Linked DNA regions of Homo sapiens: all the other regions are linked to region 1. The links are contacts of gene promoters, found by promoter capture Hi-C in blood cells and fetal thymus (Javierre and others, 2016). All regions are on one chromosome and are shown on one strand. Each heading gives the region's core, a stretch centred on a gene start or on the middle of the fragment in contact. The rest is flanking DNA. Distances are from core to core; before and after follow the strand shown. Region 1 holds the start of SLC25A11 (solute carrier family 25 member 11). Region 2 overlaps ZFP3 (ZFP3 zinc finger protein). Region 3 holds the start of VMO1 (vitelline membrane outer layer 1 homolog). Region 4 has its middle 4.5 kb from the start of ZFP3-DT.

Region 1 (2,851 bases), core at 1-2,500:
GCCACTTCGGCTGGTGTTCCCACAAAGGCACCAGTGGCACCTGCGGTCATGCCAATCACAGCCTTCAGCAGAAAGCCAGGGGGAGTACCATCAGCCCCAGTCAGGCGCTCAAACAGCACGGTATAGATGCCAAGGCGGGTAGTGGTGTAGGTGGCCTGACGCAGCAGGCCAGCCGACAGCCTGAGGAGCAGAGGGGTCAGCATATCAGGCCAAGGTCTAGAGCTGCCAACCCACAGTCTACCCTCCATCCTGAGGCCCCAATACCCAGTGTAAATGCCCCTCAGGCCTTCTGCCTTCAGGATACTGGTGAGGGCATGGAAGCTGGTTTTGTACTCTCGAGTCTTGGCCCCTTCCCCGCTCAACTGCATCCGGTTCTTCACCAGGTCCAGGGGCTGGACAAAAACTGTAGCTCCCATCCTGGGGGAAGACAGAGGTGGAGTGAAGGGCCAGGCATTCCAGATCTACCAGTGCCCACTGGAGCCTGGCAGCAAGAGGTTACAAAGGTCAGGGCCTGCCATGCGATTCAAGAATCAGGATGCTGGTGAGCATGTGTATAAGAGTCTATATGTACACCAAGTGCAACGGGTCTGAAAAGTCTAGTTGTCCAGTAGGGGCCATGCAATGAAAGTGCTCCAAGCAGCTTCATGACAGTCAAGCAGTGACCTGGGGCTGCACGCAGTCCGACACAGGGAGGGGAGGAAGGGGCATCCAAGATTTAGGACTCCAGGTAGTCCTGCAGGAGCCATTTAATGGCCTGGAACCCCCTGCCGCCCGGCCGAGCTTAGCAATGCGCTGGGAAACTCAGCTGGCCCGGCGGGGGTTGTGCAACGACCCTGCATGCAGTCCATAAGGGTCCTGCAATGGGGCCCTAGCAGCCCATCGGGGAACTCGCAATACGCTGGAGATCGCGCTGACCCCGTGCCGGCACAGTTCACTGCAACAGACCCAGAGATGAACCGGGCCCGGTTCCTTTTGCCCTTCCCTTCCTCCTCTTTTCCCATCCCTGGGGCCTGAGCTTACCCGGCCAGGCCCCCAAACAGGAACTTGACGGACTTAGGGGAGGTACGGGGCTTCCCGTCTATCCCGCCGGCCCCGGCACTCGCCGTCGCCGCCATCGCCACTCAATGGCCCTCGGCTCCGGGTCCCGTGCGCGCGCGGCCCCGCTCGCGCCCAAGGTGACACCGCGCGCGCAACAGAGCGAGGGCGCGCGCACGCCCCTCCAGCTCTCAGGTCCGACACCCGCTGGAAGCCGGCGCGGGCGCAGGCGCGCAGCGCAAAGGCGGCCGGGAGTAAGGCGGAGCTGAAGGAGGAGCTTGATGGAAGCGTGCGAGAAGGGGCGTAACTGATTTGGAAACCAGAGGAAAGGCGCTGTTTTCACCGAATTAGAATCGCGGGAAAATAGAGAAGAGTTTGTTTGAAGGTCTCGCGAGATCGAGTGAGTACGGCTCGCCAAGTTGGAGCGCTCTCGCGATAGACACAGCAACTATTCAGCTGCGAGGGGACGGGAGAGGTGGTGAGCACTCTCGCGAGATTTGAAGGAGCGGCGGAGGCCAGAGGGAGGAGAGGTTTGTAAACTAGGAGGCTCCGGGTTTCCGGGCACTTTTATTAGGTCGTCTTCTGGGCCACCAGTGCCCCTTCCATCTCCACAGGCAGTCCCTCCATCGCTAACCTTTTTTTAACCGGCCTTTTAGGACCGGAAGTCCTTCATCTCAAGCATCCAATGCTGAAAGCGGCCTGATTTTCTCTACCGGAAGCCCTTTTCCAGAGGCTGGGAACACGGCCCACCTAGCAGGAAGTCCCACCTCCTTGAGCTCCGCCACCCTTCCCGAAGTTTTTCTGTCACCTGTGTTAGGCTCCGTCCCCTTTCCGCGTTTTATCCCCGTACCAGAAAAGGATACATTTAGTGCCTCCCACCCAGCTCCACTAAACGGGTTGGATATCTCATTCTTTGAGTTGGTGTTCCTTCCCCGGCGCCCCCATGTAGCTGGGAAGTGGGACCTGGGGGTGGTTGGACCCCTGGGATCCTAAAGGAGGGGCAGGGAGGGCGCAGAACTCCGCTTCTGCTCCTTGCTACCAGGACGCGCGGCCTCCTCAGCCTCTTTCCTCCCGCTGCCATGCACCCTGCAGCCTTCCCGCTTCCTGTGGTTGTGGCCGCTGTGCTGTGGGGAGCGGCCCCGACCCGGGGGCTCATTCGAGCGGTGAGTCTGAGGGACGGATGGGGAAAGGGCGCTGAAAGGAAGGGTTGCAGGCTGAAGGGGAACATCGCCTTTTTTGTCCGCAGACCTCGGACCACAATGCCAGCATGGACTTTGCAGACCTTCCAGCTCTGTTTGGGGCTACCTTGAGCCAGGAGGGCCTCCAGGTGATTTTCTTTCTTTTCTTTTCCTCCTTCCCTCCCTTCCTTCCTTTTCTGTCTTTTTTCTTTTTTTAGTATTTCGCAAGATCCTCCATCCTAGGCTGGGGTTGGGGAGGTTTGTCCTGGGTGAAACTGGAGGTAGGAAAATGAAGTTAGGAACTGAGCACGTCTAGTGTAGAACCCAGAATCTAGAGGGAGAAGACAGAGTGTCCACCCCTGGAACTCCGAGGTTATCAGGGAGACTGAAAGTGGACGAAGACAGAAGGCAGGATCAACGGTCCTTATCAGGAAGGTCTCAGGTGCTAGTTATTGCTTATATGACTTTGGGCAAGTTAATCTCTCTGAGCCTTAGTTTGTTTTACTGTAAAATGGGATATTAGAAGTTTTCCTAGGGTTATTGTGAAGATCAAAGTAGATACGCAATTTTGGTAGTATTTCATCCCAAAGACTGCCACATAGCAAGAACTCAGTTGGGCCTTAGTAGCAGTCGAGTTG
Region 2 (2,851 bases), core at 137-2,636, 150 kb after region 1:
ACAATCACGGCTCATTGCAGCCTTGACCCCCTGGGCTCAAGTGACCCTCCTACCTCAGCCTCCCCAGTAGCTGAGACTACAGACACATGCCACTGCCCCTGGCCAATTTTTAAAAAATTTTAGTTGAGACAAGATCTCCCTATGTTACCTAGGCTGGTCTTGAACTCCTGAGCTCAAGCCATCTTCCCACCTCTGCCTCCCAAAGTACTGGAATTACAGGTGTGAGCCACCACACCCTGCCAAAAATGCACTCTTTAAGTAATCTATGAAGGTATTAAGAAAATACTATAAGAGAGCTGATTACAAAATTAATATGTAATGATCAACAGCATTGCTATATATATAAGTAATAGCCAGTTACAAAATGTAAGAAAATCTCACTAAATGAAAAGAGGTACAGAGACATGATGAACATAAAAACAACATCAGCATAAGTTTGGACTACAAATTTATACTAAAGTTTACTTGGGAAGATATGAGAATAGACAGGAAAGGTCTGAAAAAGAAAACTGAGATAACTTTCTCTAGCATATATTAAAAATGTTAATAAAGCTAACAGGTTGAACTGTTTGATATTAGAGAAGACAAGGATCAGTGGAACTGAATAGAATCCAGAAGTTGGCCCAAATATAGATGGATATTTAGACTATGGCATAGGTGGCATTTTAAATCAGTAGGGGAAAGAATTATTCAGTAAATGGTATTGACACAATTCAGTAGCCCTTTGGAGAAGTTTAAAGCCAGTGGCTCCAAATGTCAGGGAGCCAAAGGCGGTACTTCTGTGCTAGTTATAGCTAAGACACATTAATCTTTTGAAGAGGTAAGCCCTCTATGTCCCCTCTCCTGCTCTATAGAGCTGATGAGTACCAGAGAACAGGACTAAGAATAGTCCTCTTGTTACTCATTTTGCAGTTACTTCCCCTGTACACCCAAAAGTTATTTATATTAACTTGTCCTTTTTTTTTCTTTTTTGAGACAGGGTCTGACTCTGTCACCCAGCCTGGAGTGCAGTGGTGCAGTCTCCACTTATTGCAACCTCCGCCTCCCTGGTTCAAGCAATTGTCCTGCCTCAGCCCCCCAAGAAGCTGGGACTACAGGTGTACGCCACCATGCCCAGCTAGTTTTTGTATTTTTAGTAGACAGGGTTTCGCCATGTTGCCCAGGTTGGTCTTGAACTCCTGAGCTCAAATGATCCGCCCGCCTCGGCCTCCCAAAGTGCTGGGATTACAGATGTGAACCACCATGTCATTTCTGTCCCTTCTTTCAATATTTATCGTATACCTATCTATTAATATGGCCACCATTTTCCCTAGATGTTTTCTTTAATCACCTTCAGGTTCTAACCCAACTCACCGTTAATATTATGGATTTTTTTTTTATCAGCATCTCTTTACCATCCATTTCCTACTTCTCTCTTGAAATCTTTTCTCACTCCTGTCAGCATCCACTGTTTAGCATGTCCACCATAATCCTAAATCTGGATCTTCTCTTTGGCAGCATCTTGTCATTTCGCCAGATATCAAGACTGTTTCTGTTTTGTTTTTTTGTTTTGAGAGGGTCTCGCCCTGTCACCCAGGCTGAAGTGCAGTGGCGCATTTCAGCTCACTGCAGCCTTGACCTCCCCAGGCTCAAGCAATCCTCCTGCCTCAGCTGCCCTCCTCCCCTGACCAAGACTGTTTCTGAGTGCTATGAGAACTACATCAAAGCTCTGTTGTCCTCTAGTGTTAGCTTCATTTAAATATGATACGGTCCCTTCACATACTTACCTCTCTCATTTCAGATTGTGAGATGGGGACTGAGAACAAGGAGGTGATTCCCAAGGAAGAAATTTCTGAAGAATCTGAGCCACATGGGTCATTATTAGAAAAATTTCCAAAAGTGGTTTACCAAGGTCATGAGTTTGGAGCAGGATGTGAAGAAGACATGTTGGAGGGACATTCGAGAGAGTCCATGGAAGAGGTTATAGAGCAGATGTCTCCTCAGGAGAGAGACTTTCCATCAGGGTTGATGATCTTTAAGAAATCACCCTCAAGTGAGAAAGACCGGGAGAATAATGAGAGTGAGAGAGGCTGCAGTCCCAGCCCAAATCTGGTTACACATCAGGGAGATACAACAGAGGGAGTTAGTGCATTTGCTACCTCTGGCCAAAACTTCCTAGAGATTTTAGAATCTAACAAAACACAGAGAAGTTCTGTGGGAGAAAAGCCTCATACATGTAAAGAATGTGGGAAAGCCTTTAATCAGAACTCACATCTCATCCAGCATATGAGAGTTCATAGTGGAGAAAAACCCTTTGAATGTAAAGAATGTGGAAAGACATTTGGAACTAATTCAAGCCTTCGACGGCACCTGAGAATTCATGCTGGAGAAAAACCCTTTGCTTGTAATGAATGTGGAAAGGCCTTCATTCAGAGTTCACACCTTATTCACCATCATAGAATTCATACTGGAGAGAGACCCTATAAATGTGAAGAATGTGGTAAAGCCTTCAGTCAAAATTCAGCCCTTATTCTACACCAGAGAATCCATACTGGAGAGAAACCATATGAATGTAATGAATGTGGGAAGACCTTTAGGGTTAGTTCACAGCTTATTCAGCATCAGAGAATTCATACTGAAGAAAGATACCATGAATGCAATGAGTGTGGCAAAGCCTTCAAGCATAGCTCAGGCCTTATTAGACACCAGAAAATTCATACTGGAGAAAAACCATATCTGTGTAATGAATGTGGGAAGGGCTTCGGGCAGAGTTCTGAGCTTATCCGGCATCAGAGAATTCATACAGGGGACAAACCCTATGAATGTAATGAATGTGGGAAAACTTTTGGCCAGAACTCAGAGATTATTAGAC
Region 3 (2,851 bases), core at 143-2,642, 150 kb before region 1:
CCCAGCACTTTGGGAGGCCAAGGTGGGCGGATCATGAGGTCAGGAGATCGAGACCATCCTGGCTAACACGGTGAAACCCCGTCTCTACTAAAAATACAAAAAAAAAAAAAAAAAATTAGCCGGGCGTAGTGGCGGGCGCCTGTAGTCCCAGCTACTCGGGAGGCTGAGGCAGGAGAACGGCGTGAACCCGGGAGGCAGAGCTTGCAGTGAGCCGAGTGAGCCACTGCACTCCAGCCTGGGGGACAGAGCGATACTCCGTCTCAAATAAATAAATTAATAAATAAATAAATGAAATAAACAGGCGAGACCAAAGTCAACTCAGAGAAGCTTTAATAGCAAGAGGTGGGACTAGCCTCCTGGCCCGGGAGAGAGCGGCGGCGGCGGCGCCGTTCAACTGCGGCAGCAGAATAAGCGCGCGTCGTTCAGCGCAGTGTCATCGCCGAGGCCTCTAGGTCCCTGGATCTTGGTCTGCAGGCCGCACGCGCCCTTGGGGCAATGGTCACTCCAGTCTCCAAAGTCTCCCCAGCTCAGCCCAGGCCCCTGCAGTTCCTCGCCGTCTGAACAGCGGAAGCGCACGTTGTTCGCTGCTGTGTTGTCACCGAGGGTCGTGGGTGCCTCCACGCGAAGCGAGAAAGCCACTAGGTAGGCGCCGCCGCGACACCACAGCGGCTCACTCCATTCGCCCCAGCTGCAAGGCAAAGGGAGATGCGTTGCCTCTGCGGGCCCCCCATTCACCAAGCCCTTGAGACTTTCCAAGCCAAGTGCTGTGTATATGACCTGGTGGGCTGGGTGCTCCCCGACCTCCGCCGAGGAGCGGAGGAGGGGTCTTCCATCCACCCTTCGCCTCCCCGGTCTATACTGCCCCGTAGCTCTGGCGGAGCCAGCCTGCCTGTTGCGACGGAGTATGTAATAGAGGGTAAGGGACATACCATCACCCCAAGGGATCCTCGACCCCTGCGCCCCACCTTCCAGACTGGGACTCTACCACGTGCGTATTGCCTAGGACGTTCCCGCGCGCGCAGTGCAGCCTGATCCCATTCAGTGCAGTGTCGTCGCCAGGAATGCCTTGGGGAGGCTCCACCTGGGTATCGAGGAGAGGGGCAAGGGCGAGTCACGGAATTATCATCCTTGGCTCTATGGTCCCACGCATCTCCGCCCTCTCCAGGACCTACGCCTGAGCCCCAACCTTGAGCGAGAACCCGCTGGCGAAGAATCCATCGGGACACATCTCAGGCCAGGCCCAGTCGCCCCAGGGACCCCCGCTGGTCACTTCGATGACCGCCGTGTAGCCGTTCCGGCCATCTGTCTGTGCACATGTGAAACCAGTCGCCCGCAGAAGCAGCAGCAGCGGCAGCAGCTTGGCTCCTGCGCCCCGCTCCATCCTGTAGCGTCTGTGAATCAGGCCTCCTAAGCAGATTTATATCAGTTTGGCCTCTGTGAGGGCTCCGATTGCGGAAGGGCCTCCCAGATTAAGTGAAACCCAAAACTAATCCACTCCCGGAACCCTATTTCCTGCTCCCGGAGGCAGAGGCTCCCAGAGCTAGGGTAGGAGGGGCAGTGAGAGAGGGCGAATTAAAATAACCATCACCTACTGAATATTTACTATAGGCTACGAATTATGGTTAGCGCTTTGCAGTATTTTGTTTAACCCTCACAACAATTTTTGGGGGGTGAGAATTATCCTTCCTATTTTGTAGATGAGGGAACTGGCTCAAAAATGGCAAGCAACTTGCCTTAGGTTTACAGCCAAGCAAGCTGGGAAACATTCCAGCAGTGAGAGTGGAGACAGAGCAGAGACCAGGGCTAGGGATGGAAGTGACCTCCCGGGAGTCCCACCAGTGACGGGATGGGGCAAGAGCAACCCAGAGACCTCCAGGATGTGAGGGGACATCAGAGTGAGGATAGGACAAGAATCCTCGAACTGGAGAAGCTGAGAAAACTCCTGTCAGCTCAGAAGTCTCTTCCTCCTCTGAGAGGTCTTCTGAGAGCTCAGGGCCCTAACACCTTGAGAATCCGGGACACTCCTCCCTACCTTAGAAGAAGACATATACAAACAGAAATAATTCTTTTTTATTTTTATTTTTTGAGTCGAAGTCTCACTCTGTCGCCCAGTGGCGGCATCGCAGTGGCGCGATCTCGGCTCACTGCTACCTCCACCTCCTGGGTTCAAGCGATTCTCCTGCCTCAGCCTCCCGAGTAGCTGGGACTACAGGCGCGCGCCAAGACGCCGCCCCGCTAATTTTTGTATTTTTAGTAGAGACCGGGTTTCACCGTGTTGGCCAGGATGGTCTCTATCTCTTGACCTTGTGATCCGCCTGCCTCGGCCTCCCAAAGTGCTGGGATTACAGGCATGAGCCACCGCGCCCGGTCCAACAGGAATAACTCTAAGAAGTTTGGGGACAGGAGACTAAGAACCCCTAAGAAAAGATCATGCTGTTTCTTCCATTGCTTTCTGTATCCTTATATCCTTTCCTGGAATGCCTTTCCCCCTGTGACCACCAGATGGACTCCTAATTTGCAAAACAAAAAGCGAGAAAATCTGGCTAAGTATGTTTTTTGTTTGTTTGTTTGTTTGTTTGTTTTGAGACGAAGTCTCACTCTGTTGCCCAGGTTGGAGTGCAGTGACGCCATCTCGGCTCACTGCAACCTCTGCCTCCCGGGTTCAAGCGATTCTCTTCCCTTAACCTCCCGAGTAGCTGGGATTATAGGCGTTCGCCACCACGCCCGGCTAATTTGTATATTTTTAGTAGAGACGGGGTGTTGCCATGTTAGCCAGGCTGACCTCAGGTGATCCGCCCACCTCGGCCTCCCAAAGTGCTGGGATTACAGGCGTGAGCCACCGTGCCTGGCC
Region 4 (2,851 bases), core at 229-2,728, 130 kb after region 1:
GGAGGCTGAGGCAGGAGAAGTGCTTGAACCCGGGAGGTGGAGGTTGCAATGAGCTGAGATTGTGCCACTGCACTCCAGCCTGGGCAACAGAACAAAACTGTCTCAAAAAAAAAAAAAAAAAAAAAAAAAAGAAGTATATTTTCTACTGAATGTGTATTGTTCCCGCACTGTTGTAAAGTCAAAAACTTGCAAGTTGAAGCATTGTTAAGTTGGGGACCATCTGTATAATTGTTAACTCCAGAGTAGGAAGTTGCTCCTTTGCTCTACTTCCTTACATCTTCACAGCTGGAGGTGTAAGGGGGAACACCAAGGATGTAACTGAACCTTGATTCAGCTTCAGCCAGTCACGTTACTGTGCAGAGGTGAGATATGAATATTTTTGTCCATCAAGTTTCCACTGAACAGAGGCCCAGCACCACCAGTGCCTCCTGCAGAACTCTCAAAGACATGTGACATGGTCCTGGACCTCAAGGACAGCTGTGTGTCTGTAGGAAATAGTTAAATCACATGAGGCAAGATTCGTCTGTGTCACATTGAGTGAGACTTTGGGTATGTAGGATGTTCTGTGAGGTTGGCCTAGTTAAAAGAAGAAAGGCAGGAGTAAGGAAGCAGCTGGCAGTGATAAGAAGCGGAGCCCGGGCGCAGTGGCTCATGCCTGTAATCCCAACACTTTGGGAGGCCGAGGTAGGTGGATCACTTGAGGTGAAGAGTTCGAGACCAGCTTGTCCAACACGGCGAAACCCTGTCTCTACTGAAAATACAAAAATTAGCCAGGAGTGGTGGTGCATGTCTGTAATCCCAACTACTTGGGAGGCTGAAGCAGGAGAATCGCTTGAACCCAGCAGGCGGAGGTTGCAGTGAGCCAAGATTGCACCATTGCACTCCAGCCTGGGCGACAAGAGTGAAGCTCTGTCTCAAAAATAAAATAAAATAAAATAATAAAATAATAAAATAAAAATGTAAGAAAGGAGTGCAGCCAGTGCCTGTAGCCCTCCTTCTCACATATTCTACAGATAGAAGAGAAGGGACAAGGGTGAAATAGTGCAGTGTGTCTTTGGTTTCTCCATGTGTTTGTCTCTGTGTGAATTCAGGAGGGTGGTCAGTGTTCCTATCTACCTTTTTTTTTTTTTTTAAGAGGAACAGAACTGCTCATACTCACCTATAAAGCCAATTCTGTGGAAGTCCTGAACCTGTTAGTAGACCGTGAAACATCAGCCCCTGCCCAGTCATACACATCCTCATACAGGCTGAAAGTGGGAACAGTATTTACAAACCATATGTCCTTGTCTCCTTCACTCAGTAGATTCCTATTACTCCAGGTGGCACCTAGGTTGGCTAGTGTAATAAAGCAGACGGTGGGCCAGGCGTGGTAGCTCACGGCTGTAATCCCAGCACTTTGGGAGGCCGAGGTGGGCGGATCACCTGAGCTCAGGAGTTCCAGACAAGCCTGACTAACATGGAGAAACCCTGTCTCTACTAAAAATACAAAAATTAGCCGGGCGTGGTGGCACGTGGCTGTATTCCCAGCTACTCAGGAGGCTGAGGCAGGAGAATCGCTTGAACCTCGGAGGTGGAGGTTGCGGTGAGCCAAGATCACGCCATTGCACTCCAGCCTGAGCGACAAGAGCAAGACTCCATCTCAAAAAACAAAACAAAATAAAATAAAATAAAGCAAACGGTGAGCCGGGGAGTGGCTGAGAGGAGACAACTTATCCTTTTCCTTCCTAACTCACACACAAGCGCAGGTCAGATTAAGCACTGCCAAAGCTGGGGCCAATGATTCTCAAACTTTATTGTGCATCAGAGCCATGAAGTGTTGTTAAAACACACATTTCTGGGCCGGGCTTGGTGGCTCACACCTGTAATCCTGGCACTTTGGGAGGCCGAGGCAGGTGGATCACCTGAGGACAGGAGATCAAGACCAGCCTGGCCAATACGGTGAAACCCCATCTCTACTAAAAGTACAAAAATTAGCCAGGTGTGGTGGTGCATACTTATAATCCCAGCTACTCGGGAGGCTGAGGCAGGAGAATCACTTGAACCCAGGAGGCGGAGGTTGTGGTGAGCTGAGATGGCACCACTGCACCCCAGCCTGGGCGACAGAGTGGACTCCATCTCAAAAAACAACAGCCACCAAACCAAACAAAACAAAACAAAAAAGCCACAACACATTTCTGAGCTCCAACTCCAGAGTTTCTGATTTAGAAGATCTGTGGGTGGGGCCTAAGAATTTTCATTTCTAACAAGTCCCCAGGTGATGCTAATGCTGCTGGTTTAGAGACCACACTTTGAGAACCATTGGCCTATGCTATTGGTTTTCAACCATGGCTGTAGGTCAGAATTACCTGGAAAGTTAAAAGCAAAACAATCCACGTCCAGATCTTTTTTCAGATCAATTTCAACAGAGTCTATGTGGGAGGCACCAGACAGCCATGATTTTAGACCCCAGGTGATTCCAATGTGCAGTCAAGTGTAGGGGTGGGTTGCCCCTCCACACCTGTGGGTGTTTCTCGTAAGGTGGAACGAGAGACTTAGGAAAGAAAAAGACACAGAGACAAAGTATAGAGAAAGAAATAAGGGGACCCAGGGAACCAGCGTTCAGCATATGGAGGATCCCGCCAGCCTCTGAGTTCCCTTAGTATTTATTGATCATTTGTGGGTGTTTCTCGAAGAGGGGGATGTGTCAGGGTCACAAGACAATTGTGGGGAGAGGGTCAGCAGACAAACACGTGAACAAAGGTCTTTGCATCATAGACAATGTAAAGGATTAAGTGCTGTGCTTTTAGATATGCATACACATAAACATCTCAATGCTTTACAAAGCAGTATTGCTGCCCGCAGGTCCCACTCC

What was found. Contacts are between HindIII fragments. The CHiCAGO score rates a contact against its expected background, and 5 or more counts as called.
Region 2: a fragment that was not itself captured here is called in contact with the fragment with the promoter of SLC25A11 in region 1 in 1 of 17 cell types (naive B cells); the score reaches 5.3 in naive B cells.
Region 3: a contact is called between the fragment with the promoter of VMO1 here and the fragment with the promoter of SLC25A11 in region 1, in 2 of 17 cell types (monocytes and M2 macrophages). The highest score is 6.6, in monocytes.
Region 4: a contact is called between a fragment that was not itself captured here and the fragment with the promoter of SLC25A11 in region 1, in 6 of 17 cell types (M1 macrophages, naive B cells, total B cells and 3 more). The highest score is 6.7, in M1 macrophages.

What each region holds. Positions count from the first base shown.
Region 1 is chr17:4,938,796-4,941,646 of GRCh38, forward strand. It overlaps SLC25A11 (solute carrier family 25 member 11), which reads right to left and starts at 1,251. Exons shown (of 8, transcript NM_003562.5): 1 at 1,021-1,251; 2 at 265-417; 3 at 1-180. The coding sequence starts at 1,115. It overlaps RNF167 (ring finger protein 167), which reads left to right and starts at 1,473. Exons shown (of 10, transcript NM_015528.3): 1 at 1,473-1,565; 2 at 1,692-2,198; 3 at 2,282-2,362. The coding sequence starts at 2,115. RefSeq lists enhancers at 1-58, 59-584, 1,301-1,370, 2,251-2,380 and silencers at 1,091-1,160, 1,723-1,917. The HindIII fragment of the contact is 8,197 bases long and covers 1-2,851 here.
Region 2 is chr17:5,089,717-5,092,567 of GRCh38, forward strand. It overlaps ZFP3 (ZFP3 zinc finger protein), which reads left to right. Exons shown (of 2, transcript NM_153018.3): 2 at 1,781-2,851. The coding sequence starts at 1,789. Among named protein-coding and RNA genes, the nearest start is that of ZFP3, 13 kb to the left of the region's middle. The HindIII fragment of the contact is 3,851 bases long and covers 1-2,851 here.
Region 3 is chr17:4,784,972-4,787,822 of GRCh38, forward strand. VMO1 (vitelline membrane outer layer 1 homolog) reads right to left here and starts at 1,393. Exons shown (of 3, transcript NM_182566.3): 1 at 1,187-1,393; 2 at 966-1,081; 3 at 314-688. The coding sequence starts at 1,381. The coding sequence ends at 391. The HindIII fragment of the contact is 7,251 bases long and covers 326-2,851 here.
Region 4 is chr17:5,072,209-5,075,059 of GRCh38, forward strand. No RefSeq gene overlaps it. Among named protein-coding and RNA genes, the nearest start is that of ZFP3-DT, 4.5 kb to the right of the region's middle. The HindIII fragment of the contact is 8,230 bases long and covers 1-2,851 here.